Regions from separate parts of the Homo sapiens genome. Here region 2 is linked to region 1. Evidence: promoter capture Hi-C in 16 types of primary human blood cells and fetal thymus (Javierre and others, 2016). All regions are on one chromosome and are shown on one strand. Each heading gives the region's core, a stretch centred on a gene start or on the middle of the fragment in contact. The rest is flanking DNA. Distances are from core to core; before and after follow the strand shown.

Region 1 (3,764 bases), core at 186-2,685:
ACCACACCGCTCCCAGAGGGTTACAATATCCGTGGGGGAGCTGTACTGTCCGTAGGCAAGGTTACATAATTCCCGGGGGTTGTGGGGGAAAGCTTCCCTGGAGCCCTTGGTCTCCCCAAGGAGGAGGCCTGAGACTTTTTTTTTTAGGCACTGGTGAGGAGCCTGTCTAAGGTGGACTAGGTACCCCGCAAGCGAGGAGGCTGGGATTGAAGCCCTGGGTACCGGGAGCCTGAGCTCCGCAGGCCTTCCCTATCTGTGACTTTTCTGTCTCCCCGCCCATCTTCTGGATTCGTCCCCCACCCAGCCCCCCCAACTCCCGCCCGCCACCCATACGCCCCTCCTTCGGAACCTCAGAGTCTTTTTTGAGACTCTGTTTCCAGGCTATGCCTGTGAATATTGCTTCTATTTGGCCTCTACCCTGCTGCCGGCTCCTGGGCTCCATCAGATCTGCGCTGTGATTTCCTGTTTCCCAGAGCCTCAGGCTTCATCCTTCCCTCCCGGCTGAGGCAGAGAACGGAGACTTAACACTTCTCTACGCTCTGGCTTTCGATCTTAAGCCCTGTCTTCCTCTCTCCTGGCGACCCTCAGTGCCCCTTGGGAGCACATTTGTTCAGACTTTGGTCGCCCCCTCGTATCCCGGCCCCGCCTCCGGAACCCCCGGTCCTAGTAGTGGACGTGGGGGGACCTCCGGCGCCAGCCCTATCCCCGGGACAGCTGCAGCCTGGGGACGGTGGTGGTGGGGGCTTCCAAATGCATTCTCTCTGGTCACTTCCTCCCCAGCTGGACGGGGGTTATCAGGGAAGCCAAGACCCCATCCCCACAGGAGCGGAGGGCACAGCCGCCTCCCCATTTCCGATGCTGGGAAATGCATCCCACCCATTCCACCCCACCCCTGGACAGCTGCCCCCATTCAGGCTCAGGGTTGGGGGGTTGGGTAAAACCAAGCTGGGAAATGCTGTGGTCTTCATCATCTTCTAAGGTCCTGACCCCGCCCCTCTGCAGAGAAGATTCTGCCCCCTCCCCACAAAAGTTTCTGACCCCCGCTTCCTCGGAAGGGCCCCCCGTTTTCCCATACAGGCTCCCAAAAGAAACTCTGGAGCCCGCAGTGGGCAGGAGAGGAGGAGGGGCAGCAGGTAGCGAGTGCCGAAGACTTAAGTTAGCTGCAGACTCGGAGCCTCTGACTAGGGTCATGACCCGCGGGACCCCATCCCACCCCCACCCCCTCCTTCCTCCCTCCCCCGCCGCGCGGCCCCTTTAAGCCCAGAGCCGGCCGGTCCTCAGTGGCTGCGCGCCGACGAGCGTGTGTGTGAGTGCGCGGGGAGGGGGCGGGCGCAGTGTCTCCATGGCGACGCGGCGGTGACGTCGCCGGCCGGGGGGCGTGGGCGTCCCGGCCCCGGAGTGCGATATTAACCCGGGAGGCGGCGGCGGGGAGGGGAGAGGCTCTGAGAGGCGAGGCCGGGTGAGGCGGCGAGGGCGGCCCGACGGGCGCGGGACGGGACGGGGCAGCGAGGGCGCCGGGAGCCGCGGCCCGGAATCGGGGCGCTTCGCCCCGGGCCCCCCAGCATGAAGACCCCGGCGGACACAGGTGGGGGCGGGGGCAGCACGTGTGGGGGAGACTTGTTGCCCCGGGAAACCGAACGGAGAAACTTTGGGGGGGCTGAAGGGGTCCGGGGGAGCCCGAGTGATCCCCAGTTCTGGGGGACCCCTCAAGCACTGGAGACCTGTTGCTTCTCGTGGCGCGAGCGGGGTTGCTGCCTGGGACCCCCGATTCCTGGCTCCGGGCGGAGTGGTGTGGGTGCTGCGGGTCTTGGTCCTGTATCCCTACCGGGACCCCGCAGGCCGGGCTCTCCCCCACTCCCGGGATCACGGGGGTGGCGGGGTCCTTCCCCTCCGCTCTTGTCACGTTGCACTCTGGGGGCCGGGACGTGTGCGGGGCGGGGGGGCTCGTCCACCGGGCCCGCTATCCCTGGTTCTGCGCTGCGCGGTCCTGCTGGTGACCTTCACGGCGGCGCGTGCCCTGCACCAGGTTAGCGGGGGATACGGGATGGCCTCTAGGAGGAGGGCGTGAGTGGGGAGCCCGGGACTCGGGGTCCTGGCTGCGCCGCCCCTCCCCCGCCCGCCTCTGTCGGCTCCTCGCTCCCCCGCCCTCGCCGAGTCGCAAAGTTCCAAAGCGCAGCCCGAACGTTCGAAAAAGGAACTTTTTGTTTCCGACCTTAGAACGCGCGGCTTTAAGGTGGCTCCGGGGAGACCTGGGTACCCTCCTCCCGCGCCACCGGTGGCCCGGGGTTGAGGAGGGTGGGGAAGGTGGGGGGAGACGCAGAGGCTCCCCCCTCGCCCCCCCTCCCGGATCCACCTCTTCTCTTTCAGCGGGCCGTCTCTTCCCTCCGCCCCTCTCTTCCCCGCCAACTTGCTCCTCCTTAAGGGGCCAAGGTTCCCCTCCCCCTCGGTCGGCGGGCGGGGGGCAGCGGGATTAACTCCCCCTCCCACTCGGACTTTTCCCCCTCCCCTCCCCCGCCGCCCCCGGGCTCGCGCGGGCTGGACTTTGCGCCCGAGCGCGCAGGGGGAGGGGTCCCAGCCGCCCCCTGCCCGTCTACCCCGTCGGAATCCGGCCCGGGGCGGGGACGGGGGAGGGGGAAGGGGGCCGGGCGCCGCTGTTCAAACTTGTTTCCTTCCCCCGGCGGCGGCGGCGGCGGCGGCGGCGGCTCGGGCTCCTGTGTGCGGGTGTGTGCCCCGACCGGCCCACCCACCCCACCCCATCCCCACCCCATTCCCACCCCATTCCCATCCCCATCCCCCTGCTCGGCGGGTGGGGGCGGCTTAATCTTAAAGGGCTCCGAGCTGGGATCCGGCGCCAGGGGATTGGGACCCGGACCGAGGAGGGGCCCTGGGGGTGGGGCCGGGGTGCGGAGTGCGGTAGGGTCAGTCACGTGCGTCCTACACACTCCCCCGGCTTCCACTCGCTCCCGGGTGGCTGGGCCCTGGGGGCAGCAGGAGCCTACCCTCGCCCAAGGAGGAGGCCGAGGCACCCAGACAACCTCGCTTCATCTTCTCTCCCTGCTACCGGCCTTGGCCTGATAGGATCCGCGGGTCGCTTCCCCAACCCTGTCGGGGGGCGGGACAGTGTGTGGGTTTTCCGGCTGGGGGAGGGGAGGGGAAGGAGGCCTGGAATGGCCTCCGATCGGTGCATCTTTCCCGTCTGCCTCCTGGCCTGCCGCTCCGCACCCCTCCATCCAGTTCTCCATCCCGGTCCCTCTCTCTGCCGTGGCTGTTTCCCACTTCCTGTTTTCTTCCCGGCTCTGGCGCCATAGAGGGCCGCCTGGAGTGGGGGAGGTGGTGGGGCCCCCCAGGAGGCCGGCGTGTTCTTCCTCTGCCACCACTCCTCCCTTCCGACCCTCATAGTCCCTTAAAAAAAGTTTGGGCCGTCACGTGAGGTTGGGGGGTGCCCAGGAGTTTTGTCCCCCCAGGCTTGCATAGTCTGTCTGGGAGAATCCCTACCCCGCCTCTGTGGGACCCAGGTGTGCTTCTGGGACCTCGCCATCCCAGCCCTTGCTGTCTGACTGCTGCCACTTCTGCACTCTGTCTCGCAGTCTCCTGAACCCCTCTCTCCATGTGCCTGCTCTCTCCCTGCCTCACTGGCCCCCATGTTCCCGAGGTCCCGCACCCCCAAGCTTCCTCCGTGCAGGTCTGGTGTTTCCCTGTTTTAAGCACGTGGACGCATACACAGCACACTCACACATGCTCCCCTTGCCCGTGCCTGGCTCCTG
Region 2 (3,377 bases), core at 859-3,358, 120 kb after region 1:
CTCAGACTGTTAGCTCCTTGAGGTCAGATTTTAGATCTAGCTCACCTCTGGGTCCTCAGCTCCCAGCACAGGGCTTGGCACTGAGGGACATGAGGAAATGTTTGAATTGAAGGAAATGGGGAAGGGTTGGCCCACCTTCAGCCAGGAGCTGATGGGATCAGGAGTCCAGTGCATTGCCGAATATCAAGAAACTGACTCGAAGGCTGTGGGCGTTGGACTGTGAGCTGCAGAGGTATTCCAGCATTGCTGACTGGACAAGGAGTGGCTGGCTGTTGCTGTTGTCTCCTGAAGGATGGGGAGCATTTCACGCCTCCAAGAAGGAGCTCCATGGCTCAGTACAGAGAGATCAAGCTGTCAGGGGGACAGACCTGGGCTTAAATCCTGACTCCACCACTCATGCTGTGTGACTTGGGGCAGGAGACTTCACCTTTCTGAGGCTCAATTTGTTAGTAAAATGAGGATGATAGCAGACCTTTACCTCCTCAGACTGTCATGAGGACTTAGAAATAATATATTGGTTCAAATAGCACAGAGTAGTCCAGGCACAGTGGCTCACGACTGTAATCTCAGCACTTTGGGAGGCTGAGGCGGGTGGATGGCTTTGAGCCTAGGAGTTCTGAGACCAGCCTGGGCAACATGGCAAAACCCATGTCTCTACTAAAAATACAAAACTAGCTGGATGTGGTGGTGCACGCCTGTGGTCCCAGCTATCTGGGAGGCTGAGGTGGGAGGATGGCATGAGCCTGGGAGGCAGAGTTTGCAGTGAGCCAAGATCATGCCACTGCACTCCAGCCTGAGTGACAGAGCCAGACAGTCTCAAAAAAAAAAAAAAAAAAGGAAAGCATAGACCACAATGCTGTGGGGGCTGCTGCTGCTAATGAAGACAAAGAGGAAGATATATTTTAAGTCCCTGAATGCTGGATACTCCTAAGCAGAACTTGACTTTGACTTAGGGCTGCTGGAGAAGCAAAGGGGCACTTCGGGTCTAGAGGGCAAAGCAGGTGTGTAAACAGGAAATAGGCTTGAGGTCATGTCTGTAATCCCAGCACTTTGGGAGGCTGAGGTGTGTGGATCACATGATCTCAGGAGTTCGAGACCAGTTTGGCCAATGTGGTGAAACCCTGTCTCTCCTAAAAACACAAAAATTAGCCTGGCCTGGTGGTGTGCACCTGTAATCCCGGCTACTCGGGAGGCTGAGGAGGCGTGAGATGCGCTTGAACCCAGGAGGCGGAGGTTGCAGTGAGCCGGGATTGTGCCATTGCACTCCAGCCTGAGCGACAGAGTGAGACTCTGTCTCAAAGGAAAAAAAAAAAAAAAGAGCCTGGACTTTAAAAATAAAGCTAAAGCTTAATTTAATTTTTTTTAAAAGGGGAAATAGGCTTGAGCCTAGAAGCCAGGAAAGTGGGCAAGAGTGGCAAGCAGTGTCTCGGGTGGGCCAGAGCTGAGGCTGGGCATGGTTTGAGGGTCTCTGAGGCCCACTGGGGGACCACATGGCCCTGCAGCAGGAGCAGACACACATCTCTTTGTGTATGTGTTTGTCTGCCACCCCTATCATCCTGTTTTCCTGCCACCCCTATCATCCTGTTTTCCTGCTTGTTTGGGTCCCTAGGTTAGCTTTCCCTAACCCCCCAGAGGCTGCCCCTGGCCTGGGCGCTGCTGAAGCCCCGTGTGCTTAGATGCAGCAAGGGGACTGGGCAGAGGGAGGTGGGTATCATTGAGTCTTGGGCCCAAGTTCATCTCCTGGCCCAGCCATGGACTCAGAGTATGGCCTGAGGCTTGGTCTCCCTGTCTCCTGCCAAGCTAGGGGTCTGAGGAGCCTCTCTGAGCTCCCACATGCCACAGCCCTACAGATGAGGGCAGTGCCTATGGGGAAAGAACCCTTGGGTTCCCTCACAGAGCAAGGATGATGCTGGGGGCTGAGTAGAGAGATCACCAAAGCAGCAGACATTCAGAGAGAGGCTGGGGAACTGAGCCACAGAGAGGGTCCCCAGGGGTGGCCAAGAGGAAGAGGCCATGGCTGGGGGGCCCTGAGGGGTGAAGAATCTCGCTCTGCTGTCCCCGGTGGGCTGGCTGCTCCCCCCCACCACTCCCCGCCGGGCCCCCGGGGGACCTCGCTCTAATAATGTATTTGATCGACTCGCCGGCCGCGTACAAGCGATTATTGTCTTGTCGGGAGTCAAACGTATCGATCCGGCGAGAAATATGAGCGGAGCAATGGGGCCCGCGTGTCAGTTACCAGCCCCGCTGGCCCTGGGGAGCCCCCTACGTCTCCTTTAATTACCGCTCAGCCCTGAGCCCAGCCTGGCCTCCCCTGTACCGCCTCCCTCCCAGCTCCCTGCACCTCAAGTGGCCCCCACTGCTCCCTAGCTCCCATGCCCTACCTGCCTCCCTCAGCATGGCTCGAGGCCTCTTCTGTGGCAACGAGGCCACCATCTCCCCCTGCCTTGAGCCTCCCTGTTCCAGCTGCCAGTGTGTTCCAAACTCTGCCCCTCTATCCTCTCTCAGGCAGGCCCATCCTCCTTCAAGATCCCCTCACCAGGCCCAGCTCTGGTCTGAGGCACTGAGAATGGAGCCAGCATGGGAGGCGAGAGGTGTGGGGTTGTTTCATCTCTCAGGGAGCGTATACAGCCTTCCCCGGCTCCAGGACTGAACTGCAGACCTGGCCGCACTGGAAGTGGGTGGTCCTTCTCTGCTGGCTCTAGGGGGCTGGAATGGGGTCACATCCAAAAGCGTGTTCCTGACGTGGATGATGTTGAGTCTGTCCAGGGTGGAGCATAAGGGTGGCTGGTGAGGTTTTGCCCCCCCCCATAATGTCCTATAGCCCCATTTCCAAGCCCCCCAAAACAAATCCTAACTGAAAACAAAGCTTACTGCGTAAATGTCGCTTTGAGACAAGGCTCCAGTGTCCACTGCTACCAGGCTGCTGTCGGGAAGACCCTCATGTATAGAAATCCTGTGGCCAGTTGCTGTGTGGTCTGTGGATCTCCTCTGTGAAATGGCCTTTACGATACGGGATGTTGTGGAGTGTAGATGCCGGGAAACGGTCACCTCTCGTGTGCATATATGAGAACTGCCAGTCCTTCCTGTTGTGCCCACCTGCTTGCCTGGGTGTGTCTGGGTGCACAGGGCACGTGTGCAGTCAGGGGAGGGCACTCCTGTAGTTGTGCCTGTAGTATACCCTTTCTGAGTGTGCCTGTGTGTGAGTGGGTGCGAGTGGCCAGGAAGTATGCTTGGGCACATATGTGTAGAAGTGCCCTTGTGCCCATGGGTCCATGTGAGGGAGTAGAGGAGGTATCAGTATATGGGAGTGACCATCGTCAGCAGGGAGGGCTGGTGTTGGGGCCTGTGCACATAGATGTGTTCATGCACGTGTGTGT

Evidence for each region. Contacts are between HindIII fragments. The CHiCAGO score rates a contact against its expected background, and 5 or more counts as called.
Region 2: a fragment that was not itself captured here is called in contact with the fragment with the promoter of ERF in region 1 in 16 of 17 cell types (fetal thymus, naive CD4 T cells, naive B cells and 13 more); the score reaches 27.1 in fetal thymus.

The regions. Positions count from the first base shown.
Region 1 is chr19:42,252,799-42,256,562 of GRCh38, reverse strand. ERF (ETS2 repressor factor) reads left to right here and starts at 1,435. Exons shown (of 4, transcript NM_006494.4): 1 at 1,435-1,585. The coding sequence starts at 1,564. RefSeq lists enhancers at 207-738, 1,379-1,878 and silencers at 1,234-1,633, 1,644-2,333, 2,414-2,483, 2,574-2,693, 2,714-2,763 and 1 more. The HindIII fragment of the contact is 3,576 bases long and covers 95-3,670 here.
Region 2 is chr19:42,133,646-42,137,022 of GRCh38, reverse strand. LNROP (long non-coding regulator of POU2F2) reads right to left here. Exons shown (of 3, transcript NR_038332.1): 3 at 1-351. It also overlaps a transcript of POU2F2 not described here. Among named protein-coding and RNA genes, the nearest start is that of MIR4323, 1.8 kb to the right of the region's middle. RefSeq lists an enhancer at 3,306-3,355. The HindIII fragment of the contact is 1,520 bases long and covers 1,349-2,868 here.